7 separate regions of the Homo sapiens genome follow, and regions 1, 2, 4, 5, 6 and 7 are each linked to region 3. Evidence: promoter capture Hi-C in 16 types of primary human blood cells and fetal thymus (Javierre and others, 2016). All regions are on one chromosome and are shown on one strand. The core of a region is centred on a gene start or on the middle of the fragment in contact, and the rest is flanking DNA. Distances in the headings are between cores, read along the strand shown. Region 1 has its middle 75 kb from the start of CMC1. Region 2 overlaps NEK10 (NIMA related kinase 10). Region 3 holds the start of EOMES (eomesodermin). Region 4 has its middle 39 kb from the start of CMC1. Region 5 has its middle 57 kb from the start of CMC1. Region 6 overlaps NEK10 (NIMA related kinase 10). Region 7 has its middle 15 kb from the start of CMC1.

Region 1 (3,743 bases), core at 264-2,763, 440 kb after region 3:
TGCAGTGGCGCGATCTCGGCTCATTGCAAGCTCCACCTCCCGGGTTCACGCCATTCTCCTGCCTCAGCCTCCAGAGTAGCTGGGACTACAGGCACCTGCCACCACGCCCGGCTAATTTTTTGCATTTTTCAGTAGAGATGGGGTTTCACCATGTTAGCCAGGATGGTCTAGATCTCCTGACCTCGTGATCTGGCTACCTCGGCCTCCCAAAGTGCTGGGATTACAGGCGTGAGCCACCACGCCCAGCCACAATGACAGAATTGAGTAGTTACAACAGAGACCTTGTTGCTCAAGCAGCCTAAAATGTTTACTCTCTGTTCCTTTAGAGAAAAACCTGTGGTATAAAAAAATTAGTTTTTGAAAGATGATGCTGAAAGGAATTGTGACTCAGTCCCTACCAGGGAGAAAGACATTTCAAGGTAATACAGTTTTAGCTATATACAGATCTCAGTGAACTCTTTGCAATGTCTAGTAAACTCCTCAATAAAAAGGAAAAAAATTAAGATGTAATGTTATAAGGAAAAGATATATGCCTAAAGGAAAATAGTTCATTGTTAGAAAAACAGCAATAACAACAGAGATGCTGTTTCCAGTTTGAGAGAACTTGTGAAGTATTTCCAATAATTTTCCAAGGAAATTATTCCAAACCCACATTATTGTCAAGTGTGCTGCCCTGAATTATCGGAGAGTTTGCTTTTGATGTTAAACTAGCGGTTTTTTGGTGATTTGGTGGACAATTCTCAGAATCACAATTATATTAGGAAACCAAGGAATAGAAGAAAGTAGTGAGCAGAGAATGAAAAGTGTAGAGGGGGCACACAGCTGGTTGTCCTTGGGCAAATGAGTTCACCAACAACTCTGAGCCTTCATTACTGCACATGTGAGATGGGAGATAACATTACATAAAAGCTTAAAGAAGAAAATGTATGGGAAAGTGTCTGGCATAATTAAATAAATATATCTGGCTAGACTAAGTGGAACACTACAATTGATAACGAATGGTTTTGTAATAATCATGGATAGTGACAGAGTAAACTCTCCATAAATAATAGTGTTTATTTTTACAGTAAGAATATGTATAAATGTCCATACAGGGTTGCTTTTCCTCAACCAGCCATAGAAGCAAAAGTATTGTACTGTTTCTTATATGATGTGGGTAGTAACCGAGCATTGTCTCACAGACATGACAACTTGCCATTTTTTAGTACTAATTACCATGATATCCTCTCTGTGAAACTGTACTATCGCTTCTGTCTAAATGATTAATTTTATGAATCCTCCTACTCCCCAATAACCTGGAATTAGTGTTACATTGTCCCCCGATCTCCAAAGTCACGTAAGAAAATACTGACCATGTGAAATTAAATAAACAAGTAGTATTACCTACTTCACAGTCTTTCCTGCTCTTCCTTTAAGAAAATCTCTGTTCTGTTTGACAATGACTCCTCTAGAAGACCAAGGAATTGCACTTAAATGGCATTTTTCTTTGCCCTTCTACAGGGAGCAAGATTTCATTGGTTCATTGATGGTGCACAATGTGCCAGAAAGTCTTCTAAGTGCACAATACTGAATGTTCATATTTCTTTTTTCCTTTTCTTTTTCTTTTTCTTTTGAGAGGGAGTCTTGCTCTGTCGCCCAGGCTGGAGTGCAGTGGCATGATCTCGGCTCGCTGCAACCTCCACCTCCCAGGTTTAAGCAATTCTCCTGCCTCAGCCTCCCTAGTAGCTGGGATTACAGGCACATGCCACCACACCTGGCTATTTTTTTTGTTTTTGGTAAAGATGGGGTTTCACCGTGTTAGCCAGGATGGTCTCAATCTCCTGAACCTCGTGATCTGCCCACCTTGGCCTCCCAAAGTGCTGGGATTACAGGCGTGAGCCACCATGCCTGGCCAAATATTCATTTTTCTTAAGGTAATGCAAGCTGCTGTAATGAATAAAACTCCAGATCTCATTGGTTTAAACAAACAAACATGTATTTCAAATGAATGTGTATTTCTGGCTTCTGTAAAGTCTAATCACGGGAAGGAGAAGGGGGCACTCTGCTCCACACGCTAATTCAGGGATCAGGATGATAGAGGCCTTGCCAACTTCTATACATACATTCCAAAAAGGTCCTAAGCTTTGACATTCAGCTAGCAGATTAAAGATAAGATAGCAAGAAGGATGGTCCAGAGATATTATAGGACAGGTCTGGAAAGGGGTATACCCTACTTCCATCCACTTTCCACTGGCCAGAGTTTAGCCATGTGGCTCCACTAAGATTCAGAACATGCTGAAAAATGGTGTATAGGGCTGGAAACTCCTTTCCTGCAACAATTCTATGCTGTTAAAGGGCAATATGAACTTTTGCCAAGGGCTGACCATACTGCAACCTTCCCTATAAATGTGAGGCACTATTAACAGTGACATGCATAAATATGTACATGGGATCTGAGTTCTGAAAAAAGCAAGCTTGTCAAAGAAATGCAGAAGTTCACATTTTCTATCACAAAAAGGCTCACTGAGAAATTTTAGTATGCTGTATCAAAGCTTCTGAATGCAACCCATAGGTGATTTCACACCAAAAGCAGAAGAGGACAGGTAGGCATAAAACAAAGGTTAATACGGGTTTTTCTTTTTTTTAGTGTAACTTTATTTTACCACTTTTATTAGATCATTTGGTTGTTTTCTCAAAATTTTTCCTTCTTGGATTTATTACTATAAACTCAGAGGATGCTTGAATGAATAAATAAATAAATCTCTGTTGGAGATTTGCTTGATGAGCATCTGTCACGGTGTTTAATTATATATTAACAGTAACCCAAAAAAAGTCTTAATGGCTCTTTCAATTTTGAACTGTTCATCATGAAATTGTGTTGATCATGCGTTGTTGTACTATGAAGTTTTTGTCAGGAAAAAAAAAGAAGTTTCTGATATCACAGGAATTCTGGGTCCTAATTAAGCAATCAGATTCAACAAAGTGTATATTAATTTAAGATCACATACCTCAGGGGCATTGAAAAGCTGAAGGCTGTTCTCTGAAAGTCATTTACAATTTGTAGTGTCACAATATCGCTGTAAAGTGTCCTAAATTGTAACTGAAAGTATCTCCAGAGGTAAGCAAAGGGAGAATATTTTAATCCTGTCACTGTAGGTCACTCAGTCTGAAAGAAATTTACTTCTTGATCCATATATAATTTTATTGTGTAATAGTTCTGTCTGCTTTTACCTAACAATGTAAGTATGTAATTATTTATTGATGTCCCTTTTACGTTACATTATGCCAGGTAATGTTATTTGTCAGCTATAATGATGAAATACAAAAAGATATAATATTTAGAAAAGAACACATTTACTGACAGACGGTATGTTTCAACAGGAGCAATAATGTTCCTTCAGGGTCTTCAGAAATATGTGAGGGCATATTTGGTTGTCCCAATTATTGGAAGACACTACCTAGTGGGCAGTGTCCAGGAATGTGAGACATCCTGCAATGTGCAGAACACTTCTATGGAATGCAGAATTGTCCAGGAGTTCACATAGCTTTAGCATCCCTCCAGACATCCATGAAGATGACATACCTTCATTACATAAGCTTAGAAGCTAACTTTGTTTTATATATTAACACAAAGTCTATCTTTGCACAATTTAAAGTTTTTTATTTATTTCTTTATTTTATTTATTTATTTATGATGGAGGCAGAGTCTCCCTGTGGTGCCCGGGCTGATCTCAAACTCCTAGTTTCCAGTGATCCTCCCATCT
Region 2 (3,843 bases), core at 269-2,768, 420 kb before region 3:
AAAAATGTTTTCTCTGTAAAATTCACTAAGTAGGAGGTAACTTTTGTGATAGAAACCCATACAAGGGTTGTACATATACATGTGTATGTTTATTAATATAGATCTATTAATTTATATTTATGTGTATATATACATACACACACAAACATGTATATATAGCTGTACATATAGTAGATTAATTAGTGGATTATACTTTGCAAAATCAGTTTCTTGGCAATAAATATTTTGTTTGCTGTGTCTCAATCATCATTTTTAACTTAATAATCTGATGCATAGTCTTAATCAAAATGATTGCTGTCCTTACCTTATGGTATTCTATACACCCAGAATTAATGCAATTCAGAGTATCCCTTTTAGAAAGAAAAAATAAAAGGGACCGCACATAACATAATGAAGAAACATCAATTAACCACATGTCAGTCCTTTTTAAGTCAAATGAGTTAAAGGAGGAAGGAGAAGAATATAAAGTGGAACTTTATTAGTTAAACGAGAAATGTTAAAATAGTTTTAAAATCACATGATGGGAATCCCAAAACCTATGTTCTGGGATACAGACTGCACCACAAGGTGAGTTGATTATGAATGGTTATGGAGACCTGACCTTGAGAAGGAGTGCTCTCACCTGAACCACCTGGTGGGCATTGGTGTCATTGAGCACCAGCTCAGTGAGGGCAGCACAGCAGGCTGGAATGACAACAATCAAATGCATAGTGTGCATCATTACAATAAATATACTATCACATAAATACTCTTACTCCACAGGGTATTTTTATTATTTTGCTATTTTTATTAGCAAAGTAACTTCTCAAGAAACACTAATTTTCCTTTTGGCACAGCTCTGGAAGAAAAGAAGTTGACTTGTAATGGCTTCTAATTCTCCTCCCCATGTAATTCATGTGCGTGTCTATTCCACTGCAACCATTTATTGAGCACTTTCTTCGTACCAGGAGGCAAGTATTGCATCTGTCCATTTCATTGTAATCCCCAGTGCCCAAAACATGCCTGGCACTTAGCAGGTGCTCAACAAATATATCTATAATGGTTGATAAATAAAAGAATGCTTTAAATATATTATTCAACTCAATCCTTATAATAAGAGTATGCACTGTGATTACCACTGTTACTGGTGAGAAAACAGTTTCAAAGAGTTACTAGACTAGGCCACACAACCAGTAAGTGGAAATGACCAGGAGTGCAGCCCCAGTCTGCCAGACGTTAAATCCCCAGCCCTAAGCAGCACCACTCTTGCCTCCTGACAGCCACTGTGGCAGCCTTTGGTGGTATTTTGCACTGAGATACTTGTGCTCTCAGAAGTATGCCAGACTCTATAGCACAGAGCTCCTATAAAGGATAATTCCATTTTACTGTGCTGAAGATTTTACATATATTCCCACATAATTCTCACAATGATCTTCTATCATTGATACCATGATTATCATCACCATTTTACATAAGCAAAACTGGAGCTTGGAGAAATTAAGGAACTTTCCCAAGGCCATATAGCCATCAATGAGGGTGGAGCCAAAACTCAGACCCTACTCTTAACCGTTTATGTTTTTAATTTTTATTTTTCCATTTTTATTTAGGTATTAACATGGTTTGGCTGTGTCCCCACCCAAATCTCATCATGAATTGTAATCCCCACAATTCCCACATGTCATAGGAGGAACCCGGTGTGAAGTGATTGAATTATGGGGGTGGGTCTTTCCTGCACTGTTCTTGTGATAGTGAATGAGTCTCACAAGATCTGATGGTTTTAAAAATGGGAGTTTCCTTGCACAAGCCCTCTCTTTGCCTGCTGCCATCCACTTAAGATATGACTTGCTCCTCCTTGCCTTCCGCCATGATTGTGAGGCCTCCCCAGCCATGTGGAACTGTAAGTCCATTAAACCCCTTTCTTTTGGAAATTGCCCAGTCTCAGGTATGTCTTTATCAGCAGCATGAAAATGGACTAATAGAGTAAATTGGTACCAGTAGAGTCGGGCTTTGCTGAAAAGATAACAGAAATTGTGAAAGTGACTTTGGAACTGGGTAACAAGCAGAGCTTGGAACAATTTGGAGGGCTCACAAGAAGACAGGAAAATGTGGGAAAGTTTGGAACTCCCTAGAGGCTTGTTGAATGGCTTTGACCAAATGCTGATAATGATATGGACAATGAAATCCAGGCCGAGGTGGTCTCAGATGGAGATGAGGAAATTGTTGGTAACTGGAGCCAAGGTGACTCTTGCTATGTTTTAGCAAAGAGATTGGTGGCATTTTGCCCCTGCCCTAGAGATCTGTGGAACTTTGAACTTGAGAGAAATGATTTAGGGTACCTGGCAGAAGAAATTTCTAAGCAGCAAAGCATTCAAGGGGTGACTTGAATGCTATTAAAGGCATTGAGTTTTAAAAGAGGAACACAGCATAAAAGTTTGGAAAATTTGCCATCTGACAATGCAATAGAAAAGAAAATCTAATTTTCTGAAAAGAAATTCAAGCCTGCTGCAGAAATTTGCATAAGTAATGAGGAGCCAAATGTTAACCCCCAAAACAATGGAGAAAATTTCTCCAGGGTGTGTCAGAGACCTTTGTGGCAGTCCCTCCCATCACAGGCCTGGAGGTTTCAGAGGGAAAAACGGTTTCATGGACTGGACCCAGGGTCCCTCTGCTGTGCGCAGTCTAGGGACTTGGTGCCCTGCATCCCAGCCACTTCAGTCATGACTAAAAGGGGCCAAGGTACAGCTTAGGCTGTTGCTTCAGAGGGTGGAAGCCCCAAGCCTTGGCAGCTTCCATGTGGTGTTGAGTCTGCTTGTACACAAAAGTCAAGAATTAGGGTTTGGGAACCTCTGCCTAGATTTCAGAGGATGTATGGAAATGCCTGGATGCCCAGGCAGAAGTTTGCTGCAGGGGCGGGGCTCTCATGGAGAACATCTGCTAGGGCAGTTCAGAAGGGAAATGTGGGGTCAGAGCCCCCACACAGAGTCCCTGCTGGGGTACTGCCTAGTGGAGCTGTAAGAAGCAGGCCACTGTCCTCCAGTAGAATGGCAGATCCACTGACAAGTGTGCACAGTGTACCTGGAAAAGCCAAAGAAACTCAACATCAACCCATGAAAGCAGCCGAGAGGGAAGCTGTACCTCACATAGCCACAGGGGCGGAGCTGCCCAAGATCATGGGAACCCACTTATAGCATCAGCGTGACCCAGATGCAAGACATGGAGTCAAAGGAGATCATTTTGGAGCTTTAAGATTTGACTGCCCTGCTGGATTCTGGACTTGCTTGGGGCCTGTAGCCCCCCTTTGTTTTGGCCAATTTCTCCCATTTGGAACAGCTGTATTTATCCAATGTCTGTACCCCATTGTATCTAGGAAGTAACTGACTTGCTTTTGATTTTACAGGCTCACAGGCAAAAGGGACTTGCCTTGTCTCAGATGAGATGTTGGACTGTGGACTTCTGAGTTAATGCTGAAATGAGTTAAGACTTTGGGGGACTGTTGGGAAGGCATGACTGGTTTTGAAATGTGAGGACATACGATTTGGGAGGGGCCGGGAGCAAAATGATATGGTTTGACTGTGTCCCCACCCAAATCTCAATCTTGAATTGTAACTCCCACAATTTTCATGTGTCATGGGAGGAACCCAGTGAGAGGTGATTGAATTATGGGGGTGGGTCTTTCCTGTGCTGTTCTCATGATAGTGAATGAGTCTCACTTGAGATCTGATTGTTTTTAAAATGTTTTTTTTGTAAAACCATTGAAAGTGCATGGAGTTTCCCTGCACAAGCCCTCTCTTGCCTGCCATCATCCACGTAAGATGTGACTTGCTTCTCCTTGCCTTCCACCATGATTGTGAGGCTTCCCCAACC
Region 3 (3,924 bases), core at 393-2,892:
TAATTTTTAAATGCACCATTTTGAAAAGTACCAGAGAACAATATTAGGTTATTCTTGTTAAAAATATATATTAAAACTTTAGGCTAAAAGTCCCCTTTGAGTGCCCCTCTCTCAGCACCCACCCCTCCCTTTCCCCAGAAGTAGCCAGTGTTAGCAGTTGGATGTATATCAGAACTTTCTCGCGCACCGAACCCGAGCCAGGTCTGGCTCCAGGGCAGATCTAACCACCTACTCCGACCGAGCTTCCGAGGCCGGCGCTCTAGCCTTCATGCCCACCTCCCGGAGACGCCCCGTGGAGACCCTGGCGCCTAAAACTGCGGGAGCCCATCTACTGCGCTCAGGTGGCCAGCTCTTGAGCCTTCCCTATCCGTGGCTCCTTGCCGGCATGCAGGCATGCACAAGCATACCGCCGAGCAGGAGGATCTAACGAATCCAGCTTGTGGACATGCCCTAATTTCCATTTCCGCCTCCTCCAGGTCTGTTCAGGTGAGGATGATGGGAGGGAAAAGCGGTGTACAGCCGTAACATTGGCACCCTGCAAGAGCCGCCGGGGCACTGACACAGAGGGACACCGCATTGGAGATGCGGTGTCTACGGAGATTTATTGCGCGCGGTGAAACACTCTAAGCACCGCGCGGAACAACTGGGTTCAGCTCCCTCATCCCGGACCTTCCCCAGGACCACACGTCACCCTTTATCCCCGAACCCAGGGGCCCCTCCACGCTGCGCTCACCTGCCCTGTTTCGTAATGATCATCTCAGTTTGGTGGCGGTGGAATTTGAGCCACAGAGGCCGGTTGCACAGGTAGACGTGGGCACGGAAGCCAGAACCTGGAACCCCCAGGCCCCCCAGTCCTCCGCAAGATCCCGCCGCTGCGGCTCCAGGGTACGGCCCGTAGAGCGGAGCCCCCTGGCTGTACTGATAGGTGCCCGGGCCGCCGCCCCCGCCGCTGCTACCGCCCGCGCCACTGCCCGCACCGGCTCCTGGGCCGAACTGCGCCCTCCCGGGTGGGCACACAGCCGCGGGGAAGCCGCCGGGGGGCAGCATGGAGCCGTAGGGGTAGCGCGCCCCGTTAGGAGCCGGGTACACAGGTCCGTGGGGCGCCCCAGCCGCCGCCTGGTACGGGAAGAGTGAGCAGGGCGCAGCCAGCTCCGACCCCTGAGGACCGGGGGACTGGAGGTAGTACCGCTCGGAGCTCAGGCTGTCCATGGAGTAGCGCGCAGTGGCCGCAGCCGCGGCGGCGGCGGCGGCGGCGGCTGCAGCGGCGGAGGGCAGCTCCTCCTCCCCGCAGGGGGAGCCCTTGCGGCCGTCCGGGGGCCCCGGCTTGGCCACTGCCGCAGCGCTGGCAAATGCGTCCCCGGCGTCGGTGTCACTAAGCATGGCCGCGGGGGCCCCTGCGCTGGCGGCTGCGGGCTCCCCGCTCACCGCCTCGCAGGAGAGACTGCCGGAAAACTTCTTGGACGCTTTGTCTAAGTCCAACTTCTGAGGAGAGGGGGCCGCGCTGGGGAGGTGGCCAGCGCTCCCGCCGCTGCCGCCTCGCGCACTCTCCAGCGGGTAGAAGTGCGCGCCAGGCAGGTTCACTGAGCTCACCAAGAGCTGCTCCCCTAACTGCATGCTTTGCAAAGCGCAGACGGCAGCTGGCTGCTTCCTCTCCTCCGGTGGCCTTATTATAAAGGCAGGATGGGGGAGCCAGCGCCCTCTTCCGAGGGGAAGGTAACTTCCCCTTCCTCCCGCGCCGGGGCTACCCACCTGCCGACTCGCGGGCCGCTACTGCGCGTACTGGCGCGCCCTGAATCCAGCGTCCTTTCCGGAAGGAAAGCGCCGTGAGTTGGAAAGCAGGAGGTGGAAACTAACCCAGAAGCCCTCTCCTTTTCCTTCCTCGTACCTCTTGCTCCTCAGGACCCCCACCCTCCTCCCAGGCTCACACGCTGGAAGAAGGTGACTTAGATCTTTGTCCCCATCCACCCACTAGCCCGCGCCTTTCTGCCCTTTTTCAATTGCCAAAGCATCGGTCAAGTTGACCACTTGGAAACTTATGGGCTGTCACTAGCTGCTTTATATATTTGCGGCCAGGGAGGGGCTTCCCGGCCTCACAGCCCGGAGACCCTCCTATTGGCTGGTGGAGGTGACACTAATTCAATTAGGCATTTACTAATTGGATCAAGTCGCCTGTGACTTTCTTTTCCTTTTTTTTTTTTTTTTTTTTTTTTTTTTTTTGAGACTGCGTCCCGCTGTGATAATCAATCCTGGTGTCTGTAATTTCGCCGGAATTTAGGGGGACAAAGTTTGGGGTCTCCATAGCGGTGTCCACCCTTGGCGCATTAGTCATCTCAGCCCTCCGCTGGAGGAATGAGATGGCTGGAGCAGATTTTAGAGGCCAGAGAGAGAAAGACTCTTCAAGCTGATAGCTTGCAGGGAAGCGCCCGTCCCGGAGGCTGGGGAAACTGGGGCAAGTTGGAGACAGGCCCAAGGAAGTCTCTTTCCTCGTCGGAAGCTGTAACTTCAAAGCACACCTTCCTCTTGTCGAAGGCAAACTCCCTGGCCTTCAACGCACAGAACCACTTTTTGTTTGTTCCCATCCTTTTACCCAGTGGGAAAGGTTTGTAGAGAGGAAACTCGCGCTAAGCTTTTGGGATTCCGGGGACGGCCAGAGCACATTGCCATCCTGGAGGACCTAAGCTCTCAGCTTCTAAATCAGAAGCTTGGACAGGGTACTGGGGACAGGACAAGAGTGAAACTAAGCGAGCTAACACCAACTTCATACTCACGCCAACACAACTGCTTTCGGGGAGACAGTCACTTTTATTCCCCACAATTTAAAATCCTTTCTGCTCAGTTTTCCTGATCCCGGATTCCGTCCCTTCACCACCATCTTCAGTTAGGCCTGACACCAAGAAACAAAGCTTCCCTAACAGCCCCACAGTTAGGATTCCCTGCGCCTCTGCTCTGCGGCAAATACAGAAGGTAGAATAATTAGTGAAATAATCAGTTTGATATTGAATTAAACTCCAGCTGCTTGTTTCTTCGCTGCGTTTCCTCAGATAGATTCAAGAGCGGGGCCGTCATATTTTATCGTTTCATTATTACGGAAGCGGGGGGCACGTTTCGTTGCGGATAAGGAGAAGCCTGAATATTCGCTGTTAATAAGCAATTACAGACGCCGCCAGTAATCGCTCCGGGAGCGCATTTTCCGGCTGAGATGTCGGGACTCTGCTTCCCCAACCGAACGCGATCACACGGGAAACTCTTCGCCCACAACAGATGAGATGGCCAAAGGATTGCTGAGTGCGCACACGCAAGTGTAGAACAGTGCGAAGCTTTCCAACCCAGTTTTCCAACCACAGCAGCACCAACATCGGCATGTCTGGGGTCTCCGAGAACGAGGTCCTTAATGCACTTAGACTCTCCAGGGCATTTATCACGGTTTTTTTTTTCTTTTTTGATGTGTGTGTTCGCGCGCTCGCGCGCTCGCGTGTGTGTGGTGGTGAAACCCAGGAGTGCGCGAAGATTTTCAGGGTCAAGGCACAGCCACAGGGGAGGGGGCAAGTTGAGACTAGTGGGCTGGGGCGGTGGCCTTGTAGGTCCTGGGACAGAGTGGCCAGGAGCAGATCGCCAGAAAGCTGGTACTGAGCGCGTTCTGCCCTGCGCTTCCTGCGTTTTGTGTCATCAGTATAGTTAGTGTTTGGCACGGCTGTTTTGATCACTACATTGTCCATGCCTTCCTCCCCTGCTTTAGTGTTATTTTGACCCAAGGAAGTCTAGAACATTGATTGTTCAAGTAGTATAGCTCTGTGAATACCTCATGACTGTCAACGTGAAGATCCCGTGAGGGGTACGCGAGCTCAAGGAAAGAAAGAGGCCGTGCAGCTTGGGCGGCTTGGACGACGTATCTATCCCTGGGCTAGCGGGTCCTGATTACTATTC
Region 4 (4,067 bases), core at 732-3,231, 480 kb after region 3:
ACTGCCAGCACGCTGTCAACTCTCAGTTTGTTTAGGTAAGCTTTTCTTTTCTTTTTTTTTTTTTCTTTTTGGAGACCAAGTCTTGCTCTGTCACCAGGCTGGAGTGCAGCGGTGCAATCTCGGCTCACTGCAACCTCCACCTCCCGGGTTCAAGCGATTCCCCTGCCTCAGCCTCCCGAGTAGCTGGGACTACAAGCACACACCACCACGCCCAGCTAATTTTTTTTGTATTTCAGTAGAGACCGGGTTTCACCATGTTGGCCAGGATGGTCTTGATCTCCTGACCTTGTGATCTGCCCACCTCAGCCTAGGTAAGCTTTTCTTGATAGAGATGTGTCCAAGCACCTCTAGGATAATTATAGACCTAAATCTTATTAATAGCCTGCAGATTTCTGTAAGACTTAGCCTGGCCTTTCTGTCCTGCCAATCTGCCATAAATGCTCCTTTGCTCTAACGCTTCAGTCACAGTGGCCTCATTCTGTTTCTCCAGTGAGAGAAGCTCCCTCAATTTCAGGATTTTGATCAATGCTTTCCCCTCTGCCTGCCACTCTGTAGTAGACATAATAATAGCCTGCAAAGAAGTCCATGTCCTAATCTTCAAAATCTGTGACTATGTTACTTCATGTGACAAAGGGACTTTAAAATATGATTAAGCATCCTGAAATGGGAAGTTTATCTTGGATTATTCAGGTGGGGCCAATGTAACCACCAGAGTCCTTATGAGAGGGAGGCAGGAGAATTAGAGTCAGTAAAGAAGATATGATCACAGAAGTAGTGGTCAGAGTGTTGCCATCACTAGAAGAGAGACTTTAGCCCTGGGATGTGAGCAGTCTCTAGAAGCTGAAAAAACAAGGAAACAGATTCTCTCCTAGAGCCCCCAGAAAGAATGCAGCCCTGCTGATCCATTTTAGAATCTAAACTCCATAACTGTAAGATAATAAATTTGTATTCATTTATGCCACTACGTTTGTGATAATTTGTTACAGCAGCAATAGAAACAAAAACACTCTATTTCACCCATCTCCCCTCTTCATTTTCCCTCTTACTAGTCTTTTAGACTAATAAGACTAAATATCTCTTCCTCAAGGACACTACCTTTATCACATAAACTCACCAAGAAATGCCCCTGTTACATTTTCAAAGCATTCCATACTTTCCCTTCATGATACTCAACAATACTGTTTGATTATTTAATTAATATCTTTGTAACCTACCAGACCACAATTTCCATGAGGGTAGAGTCTATTATGTTTTTTTCTCATCATTATATTCCAGGCATCTCACACAGTAATATCACAAGCAGTCAATAAAGTGTTGTTTAATGAATAATTAAATAAGCAAAGTAATTAATATAGGATCTGAAAATGATTTGATAGCTCTAAGGCATGTAAAGATTATTGTTATAACTAACTGGTTAGCCCTCCAAACGAGAATCAATGCTATATACCAAGGGTACCCTAGGAGGGCAGGGCCAAGATGGCTGACTAGAAGCAGCCTCTGACCATCAGAGGCTCCCATTGAAAAGAACCATAATACTGTGTGAATCCCGCACTGTCAACCAAGGTATCCAGGTTCTCCCAACAGGAATGATTAGGCAGCTGCTGTGATCCACAGAGAGGAAAAAAGAGCAGTGTGGTGTGGCAGCCCACCTGAGAGCCACACAGGTCAGGGGAGCCCTTACCCCCCAGCTAAGGGAGGTGGTGAGTGAGCATGCTACCCAGCCAGGGAAACTGTGCTTTTTATATAGAACTGTGTAACCCCTGGATCAGAAGATCCCACTTGCAAACCCATGCCATTGGGGCCTAGGGTCCCAACTCTGGAGCCATGCAGATTCTCAACAGCCTCTAAACTAGAATATGCTTAAGCCTGCTGAGTTCACAGCGGGGAGGGGGCAACCAGTACCACATCTGTGGCTTCCTGCTCTCTAAGCCATTTCAGCTTCTTGGGGAAGGGACAGCAGCCAGCACTGGGACTCATAACTACCTAACATGATAAGCTCCCTGCACTGGGGAAAGGCAGCATGCATCTCTATAGCTCCAGGCCACACTTTTCCTCTGTTGGAGCCAGTGAGGCTGGACAACTTGGTCCCAAGAGGTGTCCCCCACAGCCCAACATACCAGCTGTGGCAGACTGTGGCCAGAATGCCTCTTTAGGACTGACCCTGACCCATCCTTCCACACTGGAATGGACCTCCCTGCAAGAAATCTAACAACTCCAGCCAGAGGCTCAGGGACAGAACCCTTATCTCCCTGGGCCTGAGCCCCTAGTGGGAGGGGCAGCTGCAGTCTCTGTGGACCAGCAGACTTAGCCTTTCCTCCTCGTAGTTCTGAGGAATCCAGGCAGCCCAGACAAGTGGGTTCCCTCCAGAGAAACACACTCCCTCCACCAAGGGACAGTCAAAGTGCTTCGTTAAATAGGTCCTGTTCCCTATGCCACCTGACCGGGTGAGACCCTCCAACAGGAGTTGTCAGACACCCTATACAGGAACAATCCTACTGGCATCAGATTGGTGCCTCTCAAGGTCAGAGATTCCAGAAGAAGGGGAAGGCACCCATCTTTGCTCTTCTCCAGCCTCGAGTGACATCTCCAGGTGTGGGAGCAAATCAGACGAATAGGGCCTGAAGTGAACCCCCTGCAAATTTTGGCAGCCCTACAGAAGAGGGACCTGACCATTGAAAGGAAAACAAACAAACAGAAAGCAATAACAACAGCATCATCAACAACAAAAACGTCCCCACAAAAAACCCATCCAAGAGTCATCAGTCCTAAAGATCGAAACTGACAAACTCATGAAGATGAGAATCAATGAAAAACTGCTGAAAACCCAAAAGACTCTTCACCTCCAAAAGATCTCAGTACCTGGCCAGCAAGGGCACAGAACTGGATGGAGGATGAGATGGATGAATTGACAGAAGCAGGCTTCAGAAGATGGGTAATTAAAAACTCCACTGAACTAAAAGAGCATGTTCTATCCCAATGAAAACAAGCTAAGAACTTTGATAAAATGTAAGAGGAGCTGCTAACTGGAATAACCACTTTAGAGAGGAACATAAATGACTTCTTGGAGCTGAAAAACACAGCACAAGAATTTTGTGAAGCATACACAAGTATCAATAGCTGAACTGAACAAGCAGAAGAAAGGATAGCAGAGTTTGAAGACCACCTTGCCAAAATAAGGCATGCAGACAAGATTAGAAAAAAAAAAATGAAAAAGAATGAACAAAGCCTGCAAGAAATACGGGACTATGTAAAAAGACCAAACCTACAATTGATTGGAGTACCTGAAGGAGACAAGGAGAATGGTTACAAGCTGGAAAACACACTTCAGTATATTATCCAGGAGAACTTCCCCAACCTAGCAAGACAGGCCAACATGCAAATTCAGAAAATACAGAGAACACCACTAAGAGACTCCATGAGAAGATCAACCCCAAGACACATAATCATCAGATTCTCCAAGGTCGAAATGAAGGAAAAAATGTTAAGGGCAGCCAGAGAGAAAGGCCAGGTCACCTACAAAGCAAAGCCCATCAGACTAACAGTGGGTCTCTCAGCAGAAACCCTACATACCAGAAGAGATTGGGAGCCAATATTCAACATTCCTAAGGAAAAGAATTTTCAATCCAGAATTTCATATTCAGCCAAACTAAGCTTCATAAGCAAAGGAGAAATAAAATCCTTTCCAGACAAGCAAATGCTAAGGAATTTTGTCACCACCAGGCCTGCCTTCCAAAAGCTCCTGAAGAAAGCACTAAATATAAAAAATGAAAAACCAGTAGCAGCCACTGCAAAAACACACCAAAATATAAAGACCAATGACACTATGAAGAAACTGCATCAACTAATGGGCAAAATAACCAGATAGCACCATGATGACAGGATCAAATTCACGCATAACAATAGTTACCTTAAATGTACATGGGCTAAATGCCACAATTAAAAGACACAGACTGGCAAATTGAATAAAGAGTCAAGACCCATTGGTGTGCTGTATTCAGGAGACCCATCTCATGTGCAAAGACACACATAGGCTCAAAATAAAGAGATAGAGGACAATTTACCAAGCA
Region 5 (4,283 bases), core at 217-2,716, 460 kb after region 3:
GCACTAAATGTCACAAGAGAAAGCAGGAAAGATCTAAAATTGACACGCTAACATCACAATTAAAAGAACTAGAGAAGCAAGAGCAAACATATTCAAAAGCTAGCAGAAGGCAAGAAATAACTAAGATCAGAGCAGAACTGAAGGAGATAGAGACACAAAACACCCTTCAAAAAATCAATGAATCCAGGAGCTAGTTTTTTGAAAAGATCAACAAAATTGATAGACCACTAGCAAGACTAATAAAGAAGCAAAGAGAGAAGAATCAAATAGAAACAATAAAAAATGATAAAGGGGATATCACTACCGATCCCACAGAAATACAAACTACCATCAGGGAATACTATAAATACCTCTATGCAAATAAACTAGAAAATCTAGAAGAAATGGATAAATTCCTGTACACATACACCCTCCCAAGACTAAACCAGGAAGAAGTGGAATCCTTGAATAGACCAATAACAGGCTCTGAAATTGAGACAATAATTAATAGCTTACCAACCAAAAAAAATGTCCAGGACTAGATGGATTCACAGCCAAATTCTACCAGAGGTACAATGAGGAGCTGGTACCATTTCTTCTGAAACTATTCCAATCAATAGAAAAAGAGGGAATCCTCCCTAACTCATTTTATGGGGCCAGCATCATCCTGATAACAAAGTCTGGCAGAGACACAACAAAAAATGAGAATTTTAGACCAATATCCCTGATGAACATTGATGCAAAAATCCTCAATAAAATACTGGCAAACCGAATCCAGCAGCACATCAAAAAGCTTATCCACCATGATCAAGTGGGCTTCATCCCTGGGATGCAAGGCCAATTCAACATACACAAATCAATAAACGTAATCCAGCATAGAAACAGAATCAAAAACAAAAACCACATGATTATCTCAATAGATGAAGAAAAGGCCTTTGACAAAATTCAACAGCGCTTCATGCTAAAAACTCTCAATAAATTAGGTATTGATGGGACGTATCTCAAAATAATAAGAGCTATTTATGACTAACCCACAGCCAATATCATACTGAATGGGCAAAAACTGGAAGCATTCCCTTTGAAAACTGGCACAAGATAGGGATGCCCTCTCTCACCACTGCTATTCAACATAGTGTTGGAAGTTCTGGCCAGGGCAATCAGGCAGGAGAAAGAAATAAAGGGTATTCAATTAGGAAAAGAGGAAGTCAAATTGTCCCTGTTTGCAGATGACATGATTATATGGTGGTGATTCCTCAAGGATCTAGAACTAGAAACATCATTTGACTCAGCCATCCCATTACTGGGTATATACCCAAAGGATTACAAATCATGCTGCTATAAAGACACATGCACACGTATGTTTATTGCAGCACTATTCACAATAATAAAGACTTGGAACAAACCCAAATGTCCATCAATGATAGACTGGATTAAGAAAATGTGGCACATATATACCATGCAATACTATGCAGCCATAAAAAAGGATGAGTTCATGTCCTTTGTAGAGAGATAGATGAAGCTGGAAGCCATCATTCTCTGCAAACTATCACAAGGACAAAAAAAACAAACTGCATATTCTCACTCATAGGTGGAAATTGAACAATGAGAACACTTGGACACAGGAAGAGGAACATTACACATTGGGGCCTGTTGTGGGGTGGGGGGAGGGGGAAGGGACAGCATTAGGAGATATACCTAATGTAAATGTCGAATTAATGGGTGCAGCACACCAACATGGCACATGTATACATATGTAACAAACATGCACGTTGTGCACATGTACCCTAGAACTTAAAGTACAATAAAAAAAAAAAAAAAAAAGAAAAGTTGCTTTGGCTACAATTTGAAAACGTTCTGTAAGGAGGAAGGACAAGGCTAAGAGCTTACACTTTCATTAATTCTGTTTAAGGCCCAGATACCCAAATAACTTTTTTGATTTCTCACAGAACTCCAGAATCTTGGAATTTGGAAATAATTTTGGAGTTTACTTTCTCTATTCTCCTATATCCTGTAAGAATGCCTCATACAATAGCTGATGCCTATAACTGGCTTTAATGAAACAGAAATCAGTGTCAGATTTTAAAGAGAAAACTTCCACTGGATAAAAAGGCAGGAGACTTAAAATAAAAAGAGCACGGTCATTGGAGAAAGACAGAGCCAGATGTGTGTCCTGACTGGTTAGAAGCTTTTTAACCTTAGGCAAATTTCTTAACCATTCTGAATATTCAATTTGCCATTGTCAAAATCAGGCACACCAAAGGAAACTTTTATATAGTTTCATAATACGGAAAGAAGAAAATTATTGAAGGTCTCTAGCAATCACTGCAATAATGTTTTGCAGGCCATATGAATTTTTTGTCCTGAAAAATCTAGACAGGGCTGACTGTTGATGAAATATACATTCGCATGGTCTCCTTTACTGTTACAACTAGGATAAGGCAACCCAAATCTGTGTGATTTACCACTGGTGCCAAGAGACTAGACCACAATCATCAACACCTCAAGGGGCCTCCTTTTTCAGAAAAATATACTAGCTCTAGTAAGTCACCATGAAGATATTATAGACACTTATATTAGTTTTCTAGAGCTGCCATAACAAAGTACCACAAACGAAGTGGCTTAAACAACTAAATTTATTGTCTCATAGTTCTGGAGGCTAGAAGTCTAAGATCAAGGTGTTGGCAGAGTTGGTTCCTTCTGAGGGCTGTGAGAAAGGATCTGTTCGGTGCCTCTTTCCTAACTCCTGGTGGTTTGCATCTTTGGCATCCATTGGCTTATACATGCATTGCCCCAATCTTTGTTTTCATGTTCACATGATGTTCTCCCTGTGTTTGTGTCTGTCTCTTCAAACGGAATTATTTTCGAATGGACACCAATCATATTGAATTATGGGCCCACTTTACTCGGTATGACCTCATTTTACCTTAATAAATTACATCTGCAATGACCCTATTCCCAAATAAGGTTACATCTTATTTGGAAGTACTGGGAGTTAGGACTTCAATATATGAATTAGGGGGCAGGAGAAAATTCAATCCATAACAATGCTGAAATAAATCATCTTTATTTTACGTTAGTTGATGTCCCCTAACCCCCAAAAAACATTCTGTTTAAACTTTTCTAGTGAAGAAAAAAACATTTTTAGAATTACTTAGGACATTCTGTTTTAAAAATATTTTCTAAAAGCATCTACCTTGTTAAAAAATATATATACAACATTATAAAAAGGAATTAAAAATGGAGATGAATTTGATGCAGACCTCCCCACAGGGCTACCACTGCCACCACTTGTTCTCAACATTGACATTTGAATCTCAAGGGCAATCACAAACATGGAACTCATTCTGAAAATCTCTGTTGCCCTGTTGGAACAACTGTTCGTGTTTATAAGGCACATGGTATGATGAAGATTATATTTATTTTATATTAGTCTGGGGGCTGGCATTGTTGTTCTAAAAGTCTGAAGATGAAATTACAAATTTAAATAGTTCCTCTTTGTAGCAAAGCCTGCTGTTTGCTATAGCAGATGCTGACAGTGTTCTGCCCATATCCTATAGGCACTCATTCTACTGAAAGCACCTGTGAGTCTCTGCCAGAAGGCTTTCTTTAAGCCTGTGTGTAGCGCAGACTAGAAGTGCTGGGGGTTAACACCACTGGGAGCACCCCTCAGCCAATGCTAGATGGGAGTTGGCAGATAAATGCTCCATTTTCTTTGCAACTTGGTTGGAAAATGTCTGCACTGACTTCCAGCAACTCTAAGAAATGTCTACCCTGACTTGCAGTGTTCCCAGCTGCATTAAGCTTCCGTTGCCCATTCTTGCAACTTGATTTATAATGTACCTTTTTTTAGCCGCCTTCCTTTTCTTCTCTCACTTCCCTACATACCCAGAATTTCCTAGTTTCATCCCCTAAATAAACCACCTATACAGTTGATCCTTGAATAAAACAGGTTTTAACAATGTGGGGTCCACTTATATGCAGACTTTTTTCAATATATTAGAAAACCTTTTGGAGATTCGAGACAATTTGAAAAAACTTGCAATGAACTGCATGGCCTAGAAATATTGAAAAATTTAAGAAAGTCAGGTATGTCTATTTTATCATTTGCTATCATAAAATGAACACAAATCTATTATAAAAATTAAAAGTTATTAAAACATATGCACACAAACACAGATTACACATGGAACTATTCACTGTCAAGAGAAATGTAAACAAGTGTGATGATGCAATATTAAATCATAACTGCATAAAATTAACTATAGTACATATTGTACTACTTTAAAAATGTTATAGCCACCTCC
Region 6 (4,153 bases), core at 1,359-3,858, 440 kb before region 3:
ATTCTTCTATTCATTTGGTGAATAAAAATATTAAGTGCTATCAGAGAAAGAAGGTCAAGAAAGTTCATTTCTCTCACCTCAAGGAGAAGATGGCAATAAGCCAGTGTTTTCAATACTTTGTGCCATGTGCTATGAGACAGGCAAGCCCAGTGTACTAAGGGGTCCCAGAAACTGGACATATCAGATGTGGATGTCAAAGATGCCCCCTGGAGGAAGCGCATTTGACCTGAGTGGCAGAAGGGAGGAAGAGCATTCCAGGCAGAGGGATGGCATGTTAGAAGTCCCAGAGGCATACAGCCACATCCTGTTCAGGAAAGTGCAATCTGTCCCAGGAGGTCAGAGCAAGGAGCAAGGAGGAGATTACGAAGAAAGGGCTTTGGGTGCCATAAGGAAACTAAACTTTATCTTAAATATTATAGGCAATTACTTGAAGGATTTTAACCAGAAGAAGAGCATAATTAGATTTTAACTAAGCATGTCCAAAACCTTACACCTAAATCTCTGCCAATGGCAGAGCAATCTTCACAAACTCAGCCTCTTTCTCAACTGTTCTCATACCTCACATCTCATTAACTGGCCGACAAATCTTTTTAATTCTAGGTCCCAAATAACTGCTGAATTGAGCCCCTTTTTCACATTCTCTTCTCCTTCTGTCATTGGAAAAACCCACATCATGACTTTCCTGGACAAAAGTGCAAGAGCCTTCAGTGGCAAACATTGTGGGCCAGCTCTCCAAAAACCATCAACCAAATCCTCTCCCTTTCTCATCTCCAACTATAGAGGCTGGAAGCTCACCTCAACAGTCTCTCTTACAATGAGGAGTAGTCACATGACTTGGTTTCAGTCAACACAATATAAGAAGGCTAATGGAGACCTTCTTTGGAAGATTTTCTTTAACAGTAAAAGCAGATGAGACAGCATTTGGAGAAGACAATTTTTTTTTCTAGATTTTACCCAAGCAGCCACCTTGCCTCCCATCTTTGAATTTGGTAATAATGTCTGGAGCTCTGGCAACCATCCTGTGACTATGAGATGACAAACATATGGAGAAGTCAATCTGCTGGGGATACTGGAAAGAAAGGACAGAAAGGCCTAGATCACCCTAAGCTGCTGAACCCACCCTGGAACTACTCACTCTCAGACCCCTTGTTGTGAGATAACTAAATATCCTCATGGTTTAAGCCATCGTTAGTCTGGCTTTTTGCACCTGAACATATCCTAACTGATACATGTCCTAAACTGAGTATCTGGGTCCAGTCTTTCCCCAGCATGCTCCCTCACCTGCCATTTTAATAATCCTTCTACCTCCCAGATCTGATCATATAATTTCTAGTCTGAAAAATCTCTGAGGATAAGTCTTTGACCAAGCTCCCCACCCACCAAGGCTCCTTCATCTCTTGCCACATCAAACACCTTGATAGTTCCTAGACACACTATACTCCTTCATGTCTCTATCCTCTGCATGTGCTATGCCTCTGCATTAACTGCTCTTACCCTTCCTGCTTAACTCTGCACCAAAAGATCCCTAAGGCACAGTTAGTCACATTTTCCCCAGTGCTTATATAGCTGTGATAGACTATATAACTATTCACTCATATTCTCTCGGAGGAGGAATGCATCCACATCCTGCTACACCTGACTTTCTTTGACCAATGAAATCTGAGTAGAAGTAACATGTGTTACTTTGGGACAGAAGTTTTAAGAGCCACGGCATGGTTTCCCATGTTCTGTCTTTCCTGCCTCTGGGATGTAGAAGCAAGTACAGAGGAAGCTCCCTTATTGACACATAATGGACATGTAGCATTAGCAGGATAGGAGTCTTGTTAAGTCAGAGGCAGACAAAATTTTCTGTAAAGACCAGATAGTAAACATTTTAGGCTTTGCCTAAATGGAACAAATATGGTCTTTGTCATGTATTCTTCCTTTTTCAACAAGCATTTAAAAATATAAAAACCAGTCTTAACTCACAGGACATATAATAATAGGTCACAACTTGATTTGTCCCACAGGCTGTATTTTGCCACTGTTTTAGGCTGTATTTTGCCACTGTTTTAAGCTGTTGAGAATTTCAGGTTACTTATTACATGTTACAGTATTTTGCATATACATTCTAGCCTTCATCACTCTGTAACAGAATTATAAGCTTCATTAAGACAGGGGTTATGTCCTTCATGCTTGCTGTGCTCACTTGTAGGATGTGTCAGCTAGGAAGGTAATTGCTGAGTGAATAACAGACGTTTTCCCCATAGGACTGTGAGCTCAGGGAGCAGAAACCATGGCTTTTCATCTTATATCTATCCCAGCAATGCCTGACCTGTGATAACATTTGAAGAGCCTTGGAGCCTTTGATAAACTTTACACTGAATCAGGTTTTTTCTTGTTGTTATCATCAGAGCAGGTGCCAAATATCACTTGAGAAACAGAAATTCACATAGCCTGTTTGTTTGCAAGATGAACATGTGACCTTCTGTGTCATGTACTAAAGTCCATGCCTGAAATCTATTAACTATAATTAAATGAGTTTTGTTTTTTCTTTTCCTTTTTTATTTGAAAGCAGAGGAGGCAAGCGGACATGGAAGGTTTACATTAAAATAAGGGTTTTTGAAAAGGTCAAGAAATCTGGAATGGTGGGTTCAAGGGTAAGTTCAGTTTTACCAAATTCCCTCAAGAGTCATTTTGTAATGTGATGGCACAATATGGACCTTATTTGGCAAGTGACAGTATTTAGGGCAAATGTTGACTGTGTCTCACCCCATGTACCACTGAATCGGGGTCTGTTTCCTTGGATGGTTTCAAAGGCTGCAAATAAATGGAGAACAAGACCTGAACATGTGTCATGGCACATGCCATCAAAAGATAGTCTTTCAAATGGAAATATATTTAGACTTAAAAATATATAGCATTTGCAAAACCAAGCATAGCAGAATATGTGAGTACTTTCTATTCTGCTTCCTCATCAAAGCAAACTCCTGCCAGCATGCTTACTATAAATAAGTGCAAACCAACCTCAATCTTAAAACATTTAATTCACCTATATTGAGAAAAATGAGAAGATGAAAATTTTAGTTTTCTGAAAGCTTTTTTTTCTGATCACATTTTCAGTACACTTTGTCTCATGCATCTTAAACATCATTTGGCAATTCTGTGTTTCTTTTCTGGAAGTAAATAAACCTTCTAGCGCAAGCAAAGAGAAAAATAAAACATAACAAGGCTGCCCCTCTGTGGTGACATGCTTTCACACCCACAGCAGCCAGCCCATTCTCACAGGCTCTACTAATTGCAGCTGCATTCCACTTCCTAAAATATGGAAATTTTATACACTTACTTTTAAATTAATGCTGCAGGGTTTTAATTTAACCATAATCCCTCTTAAAGATAAGAGACTAATGGACATATTTACATTATATCAATAGAGATAGACACTGAAAAATATTTCAGCACTATTATATTTAAAGTATTTTTTAAAGAATGACATCAAATCTCTGTGGATTATCTTTTCAGTCATAAAATCATTTTATAGTCACTGAAAATAATGGGAGTACATGAATGCCCTAACCACACAATTGCTTTAGTGAAGAGAAACTAGACTAGGCTAGGATCCCATTCTGAGCTCACTAGCTTCTGTGTCTGAAGGCTGCTAGCCTCACCAGTATGCCACCAACCTGTGCTGCTTCTTTATTTGACACTAGGAAAATACTGCTTCACTTAAAGCTAAACGGCCTTAAAATCTGGAAGTAGGCCGAGCGCGGTGGCTCACGCCTGTAATCCCAGCACTTTGGGAGGCCGAGGCGGGCGGATCATGAGGTCAACAGATCGAGACCATCCTGGCCAACATGGTGAAACCCCGTCTCTCCTAAAATACAAAAATTGGCTGGGTGTTGTGGGTTAAAAGGTGAATTGACCATATGTTTTTATCTCCTCTAAATCTCAAACCCCCTAAAATGGAAAAAAAAAAAAAAAAAAAAAAAAGCTGGGAGAGGGGATATTCTTTGGAATGTTACTAACCCACAGGAACAATGAGAATGGGCTTGGCAACAACAGAGGATGAGATATTCCAATAAATGTGTGGCAGATGGAAAGCAGGTAGAAGATGGTGTCAGACTCAGCAGAGCAAAAATGCTACCCATGCATCTGAGGAGGAAGGCTTAAGGGA
Region 7 (3,991 bases), core at 1,427-3,926, 500 kb after region 3:
TCTCTTCTGTTCTTTTTAGCTTGACTTGCTCCTGTTGGTCTTGCGTTTTCAATGTTAATTCCTCTTAAAAACCTTTCTGAACTGTCCACCCCTAGCCACATCCCAATCACTGAACTGGATTAGGCATTTATCCTATGCACTATGTGCTGTTATTGCCTCCTATCCCCACAAGGCATTACCCACTTGTATTAGTCCATTTTCACGCTGCTGATAAAGACATACCCAAGACTGGGCAATTAATAAAAGAAAGGTAGTTATTGGACTTACAGTTCTACATGGCTGGGAAGGCTTCACAATCATGGTGGAAGGTGAAAAACACATCTCACCTGGTGGCAGACAAGAGATGTGTGGGGAAACTCCCCTTTTTAAAACCATCAGATCTTGTGAGACATAGTCACTATCATGAGAATAGCATGGGAAAGATCTGCCCCCATGATTCAATTACCTCCCACCAGGTCCCTCCCACAACATGTGGGAATTGTGGGCGTTATGATTCAAGATGAGGTTTGGGTCGGGGCACAGCCAAACAGTATAACCGATTATCAACTTTATTGTAATAATTAAAATCTTACTTGTAGACATAGCATCTTAGGGCCAGGAGCACTGTTTTATTCACCACTCTATCATCAACTCCCATGCCAATGTCTAACATATAAGACTTATTCAATATTGAGCGTAGTTTTCAACAGACATAGAGAATTTACATATTCAAATAAATCCAGACTTTCAAAGTACTTTTTTTCTTTCTGTTTATTTTGTTGTTGTTGTTGTTATTAATATCAACAAAAATGAGCTTAAACAAAGTGGTAACACTATCTTTTAAAATTATTTTTATTTATTTATTATTATTATTTTTTGAGTTGGAGTCTCACTGTATCATCCAGGCTGGAGTGCAGTGGCGTGATCCTGGCTCACTGCAACCTCTGCCTCCTTGGTTCTAGTGATTCTCCAGCCTCAGCCTCCCAAGTAGCTGGGATTGCAGGTGGGTGCCACCATGCCCAGCTAATTTTTGTATTTTTAGTAGAGACAGGGATTCACTATGTTGGTCAGGCTGGTCACAAACTCCTGACTTCAAATGATCTGCCCACCTTGGCTTCCCAAAGTGCTGGGATTACAGGCATGAGCCACAGTGCCTGGCCTCAAGCTATCGTTTTATTCCATTGCTTAAAAATGGGAATTCCTCAGCATGAAACATACACAAACCAGTTATAATGATCCCAAGAATGCCTATTAGGAATTCTGGGTTCTAGGCTTGACTTTGTCACAGACTACATTTCCACTGGGTAAGGCATTTAGGATCTACGTACCACTCCACTTTTAAGTCCTGTAGTTTCTTCCTACTGTTTTACTTTAATGTATATGGTCACCAAACTCAGCTATGGGCCATGAACACAGACTGAGATGCCTCACATGTACATGGAGAGACTTAGTAGGCAACATGGTGCTACTTTGTATTTGTGGAAATAGTTGGTCTTTAAAGAAGGGGTATGTAATCATGATGAAGTGTCCTGGAAGAAAACAAAGTATCTCAAAAATGTTTTGGAGCTATTTCATTCTTCCTTTTAAGAGCCACCACTTTTCTGAAACTTTCTGTAAATGCAATAAATTGAGGGTCCAGAAGGATAGTGATAAGTAAGAAGGAATAAGATTATAAAATAAAGTTATGCCACATGTAGGCCTGTTGGGCCTGTAAGTTTGGAAAATCTGGAATCATTGAAAGGTTTTGGCAAGTAATAACATCATGAGATGAAAAAGGAGTTTAAAGGGTTTAATCTGGCTGGGCATAGAAGGAATTGGAGAAAGAAAGCCTAAAGGTCTGAAATAGTTGGGAGGCTACAAAAATAGTCCAAGTGGAAAGGGGTGTGGTCCGCACAAAAACATTGACTGTGAGAAAATAAAAATATATGGTATTAGAGAAGGTTACGCAACATGATTTGGATTTAGGGAGTGAAGTGCAGAACTTAGGTTCAAAGATAATTGAGGTTTAAAATATGAGTTGCGTTGAGAATATTGAGAGAAATATGGATGACAGAGAGTAAGACTTTTTTCAATGTGCTAAATTTGAGGTATCAATACAACATTTAAATTATTCAGTAAAGAGCTAGAGATGTAAACTTAAAATTGAGAGAAATCAAAATTCTAGTGTTATTTGGGAAACCTCCACATAAAATGCAACAGTTGCAGTCCCCAAGATGAATCAATCTAAGAGAAAGACCACAGAGAAGGTCCAATTTCTCAAGATAAAACACAGTAGAATGGTCAATGTTTAAAAATGAAAAAGGGTGACTCAGAGAGTAAAAAACAAAACACGAAAACAAACAAACAAAAACAGAATTCATGGTAGAAGTAGGTGAGTCTAGTTCAGAGGAACAAAAAGGTTTTCAAAAAGCCCAGGCTTGGTGGTGGTGCATGCCTGTAATCCCAGTTAATCAGGAGGTTGAGGTTGGAGAATTGCTTGTGCCCAGGAGGTCAAGGCTGCAGTAAGTGATGTTCATACCACTAGCCTCTAGCCTGAGCGACAGAGTGAGAGCCTTTCTCAAAAAAAAATTAATAAATAAAAAATAAAAAAAAGAGAAAGAAAGAAAGGAAGAACCTTAAGCTCCCTATATAACTGAGAAATACCATAATACCTGGGAGTAAGGACTTTCTAAGTGAATTTATTTGGTCCAAGTACAGTTAAAACTTGTAGTTTGAAACATGATGCAGTGGCTTAGCTGTCATCAGTAACATCTAGTTCACTAGAAGTTGACAGTTTTTCTTTGTTGTTTTTAAGTTATTTAGCTTATAGGGGAAATATACTATCATTTATACTTAAACCTGACCTACATATTAAAAATAACCTACTAGTTCAATAAGGTGTATTTCAACCTGAAAGTAAATAATGTATGCAATCTTCATGGCAAGCAATTTATATAATTGGAACACTTTCACTATAATTAGTGAAGAGTTGAGTTATTCTTCTTTTCTGAGAACTCATCTGCTGCTGCCCTCTTAATGCTAAGTTGAAGAGGCTGTCATTAGCAATATTTCACAGGTGGGTTGTGATTAAAATTTATTTATTTATTTTTGTATGCCCAGACTTTTTTCCCTTTTATGATTTCAGAGTAATAAGTAGCTTAAACCAGAAATATAAAGCCATACCTATTGTCTCCTGCAAGCCATGAGTCGAAAAATGAATTGAAGAATTATTCAACAATAAATCAAGGTCAGGAAAATGTGTTGAAGAAGAGCATTAGGGAAAAGGGAAAAAGGAGGGAAGGGAGGGAGTCTCAAGCAGGGGCTTTCCTCCAGATGACACTAACCGTAGCTGGATAGGCATTCATCTAGTGGTTATAGCTGATTTCAAAATTCAGGAATCAATGAGCCAAATCAGATCAAGCAAAGTGGTTGTGCTATTTTGGTAGGAAGTGGAGGTCCAAGAGGCAAGTGAACGGAAAGCTAGAGAACCTAGTTTGAACCTCAAGAAGCAAAGGTATAAGCCAGAGAAAAGGCTGGACAGTGCTAGACAAAAGAATGATCAGCAAAGCCTGGGACAGAAGTCAGCTGCATAGGCATGTTGAATGTAAGAGCTGATGAATAACGCAGTAGCTGAAAGGAGTTGAAATGCTCCTTGGTAGAGTTTTTAGTCAGATTCTAACAGAGTGAAAGGAACTTTAGAAGATGTCAGAGTGATCATATATCTCATACATGATTGAACCCTTTTACAAATAATTAAGTTAAATTAACTTTTAATTAAATACTAACGTAATATAGGCCAAGGACCTATTCTTTCCAGACAGTATGTGAATCATCAGAAATACAAAAGTGAGGTATGATCCCTATTGTTAAACCTCATAGTCTAATGAAAGAGAAAGCCTTGAAAACAATCTAAATAAAGCATTAATATAAAACATTGATACGAACACAGTGTGGGATTATCATTAGACTACCCTAAGAAAGTAAGGGAAAACTGGAGAGAGGAGGAGTATATGAGCTGGGTAGAAAAGACACT

The links. The method cuts DNA at HindIII sites, captures the fragments that hold promoters and counts their contacts. A CHiCAGO score of 5 or more calls a contact.
Region 1: a fragment that was not itself captured here is called in contact with the fragment with the promoter of EOMES in region 3 in 7 of 17 cell types (naive CD8 T cells, total CD8 T cells, activated CD4 T cells and 4 more); the score reaches 20.5 in naive CD8 T cells.
Region 2: a contact is called between a fragment that was not itself captured here and the fragment with the promoter of EOMES in region 3, in 3 of 17 cell types (M1 macrophages, M0 macrophages and monocytes). The highest score is 6.0, in M1 macrophages.
Region 4: a fragment that was not itself captured here is called in contact with the fragment with the promoter of EOMES in region 3 in 7 of 17 cell types (naive CD8 T cells, non-activated CD4 T cells, total CD8 T cells and 4 more); the score reaches 16.3 in naive CD8 T cells.
Region 5: a contact is called between a fragment that was not itself captured here and the fragment with the promoter of EOMES in region 3, in 6 of 17 cell types (naive CD8 T cells, naive CD4 T cells, non-activated CD4 T cells and 3 more). The highest score is 10.9, in naive CD8 T cells.
Region 6: a fragment that was not itself captured here is called in contact with the fragment with the promoter of EOMES in region 3 in 1 of 17 cell types (M0 macrophages); the score reaches 6.6 in M0 macrophages.
Region 7: a contact is called between a fragment that was not itself captured here and the fragment with the promoter of EOMES in region 3, in 12 of 17 cell types (total CD8 T cells, naive CD8 T cells, activated CD4 T cells and 9 more). The highest score is 27.1, in total CD8 T cells.

Annotation. Positions count from the first base shown.
Region 1 is chr3:28,164,936-28,168,678 of GRCh38, forward strand. No RefSeq gene overlaps it. Among named protein-coding and RNA genes, the nearest start is that of CMC1, 75 kb to the right of the region's middle. The HindIII fragment of the contact is 1,212 bases long and covers 908-2,119 here.
Region 2 is chr3:27,296,557-27,300,399 of GRCh38, forward strand. NEK10 (NIMA related kinase 10) reads right to left here. Exons shown (of 36, transcript NM_001394966.1): 14 at 623-684. Among named protein-coding and RNA genes, the nearest start is that of NEK10, 71 kb to the right of the region's middle. The HindIII fragment of the contact is 8,587 bases long and covers 1-3,843 here.
Region 3 is chr3:27,720,681-27,724,604 of GRCh38, forward strand. EOMES (eomesodermin) reads right to left here and starts at 1,643. Exons shown (of 6, transcript NM_001278182.2): 1 at 734-1,643. The coding sequence starts at 1,614. RefSeq lists a silencer at 1,069-1,278 and an enhancer at 3,824-3,924. The HindIII fragment of the contact is 2,734 bases long and covers 1-2,624 here.
Region 4 is chr3:28,200,954-28,205,020 of GRCh38, forward strand. No RefSeq gene overlaps it. Among named protein-coding and RNA genes, the nearest start is that of CMC1, 39 kb to the right of the region's middle. The HindIII fragment of the contact is 3,335 bases long and covers 315-3,649 here.
Region 5 is chr3:28,182,715-28,186,997 of GRCh38, forward strand. No RefSeq gene overlaps it. Among named protein-coding and RNA genes, the nearest start is that of CMC1, 57 kb to the right of the region's middle. The HindIII fragment of the contact is 1,392 bases long and covers 771-2,162 here.
Region 6 is chr3:27,276,151-27,280,303 of GRCh38, forward strand. All of the region lies in intron 22 of NEK10 (NIMA related kinase 10), which reads right to left. Among named protein-coding and RNA genes, the nearest start is that of NEK10, 91 kb to the right of the region's middle. The HindIII fragment of the contact is 934 bases long and covers 2,142-3,075 here.
Region 7 is chr3:28,224,265-28,228,255 of GRCh38, forward strand. No RefSeq gene overlaps it. Among named protein-coding and RNA genes, the nearest start is that of CMC1, 15 kb to the right of the region's middle. The HindIII fragment of the contact is 9,028 bases long and covers 1-3,991 here.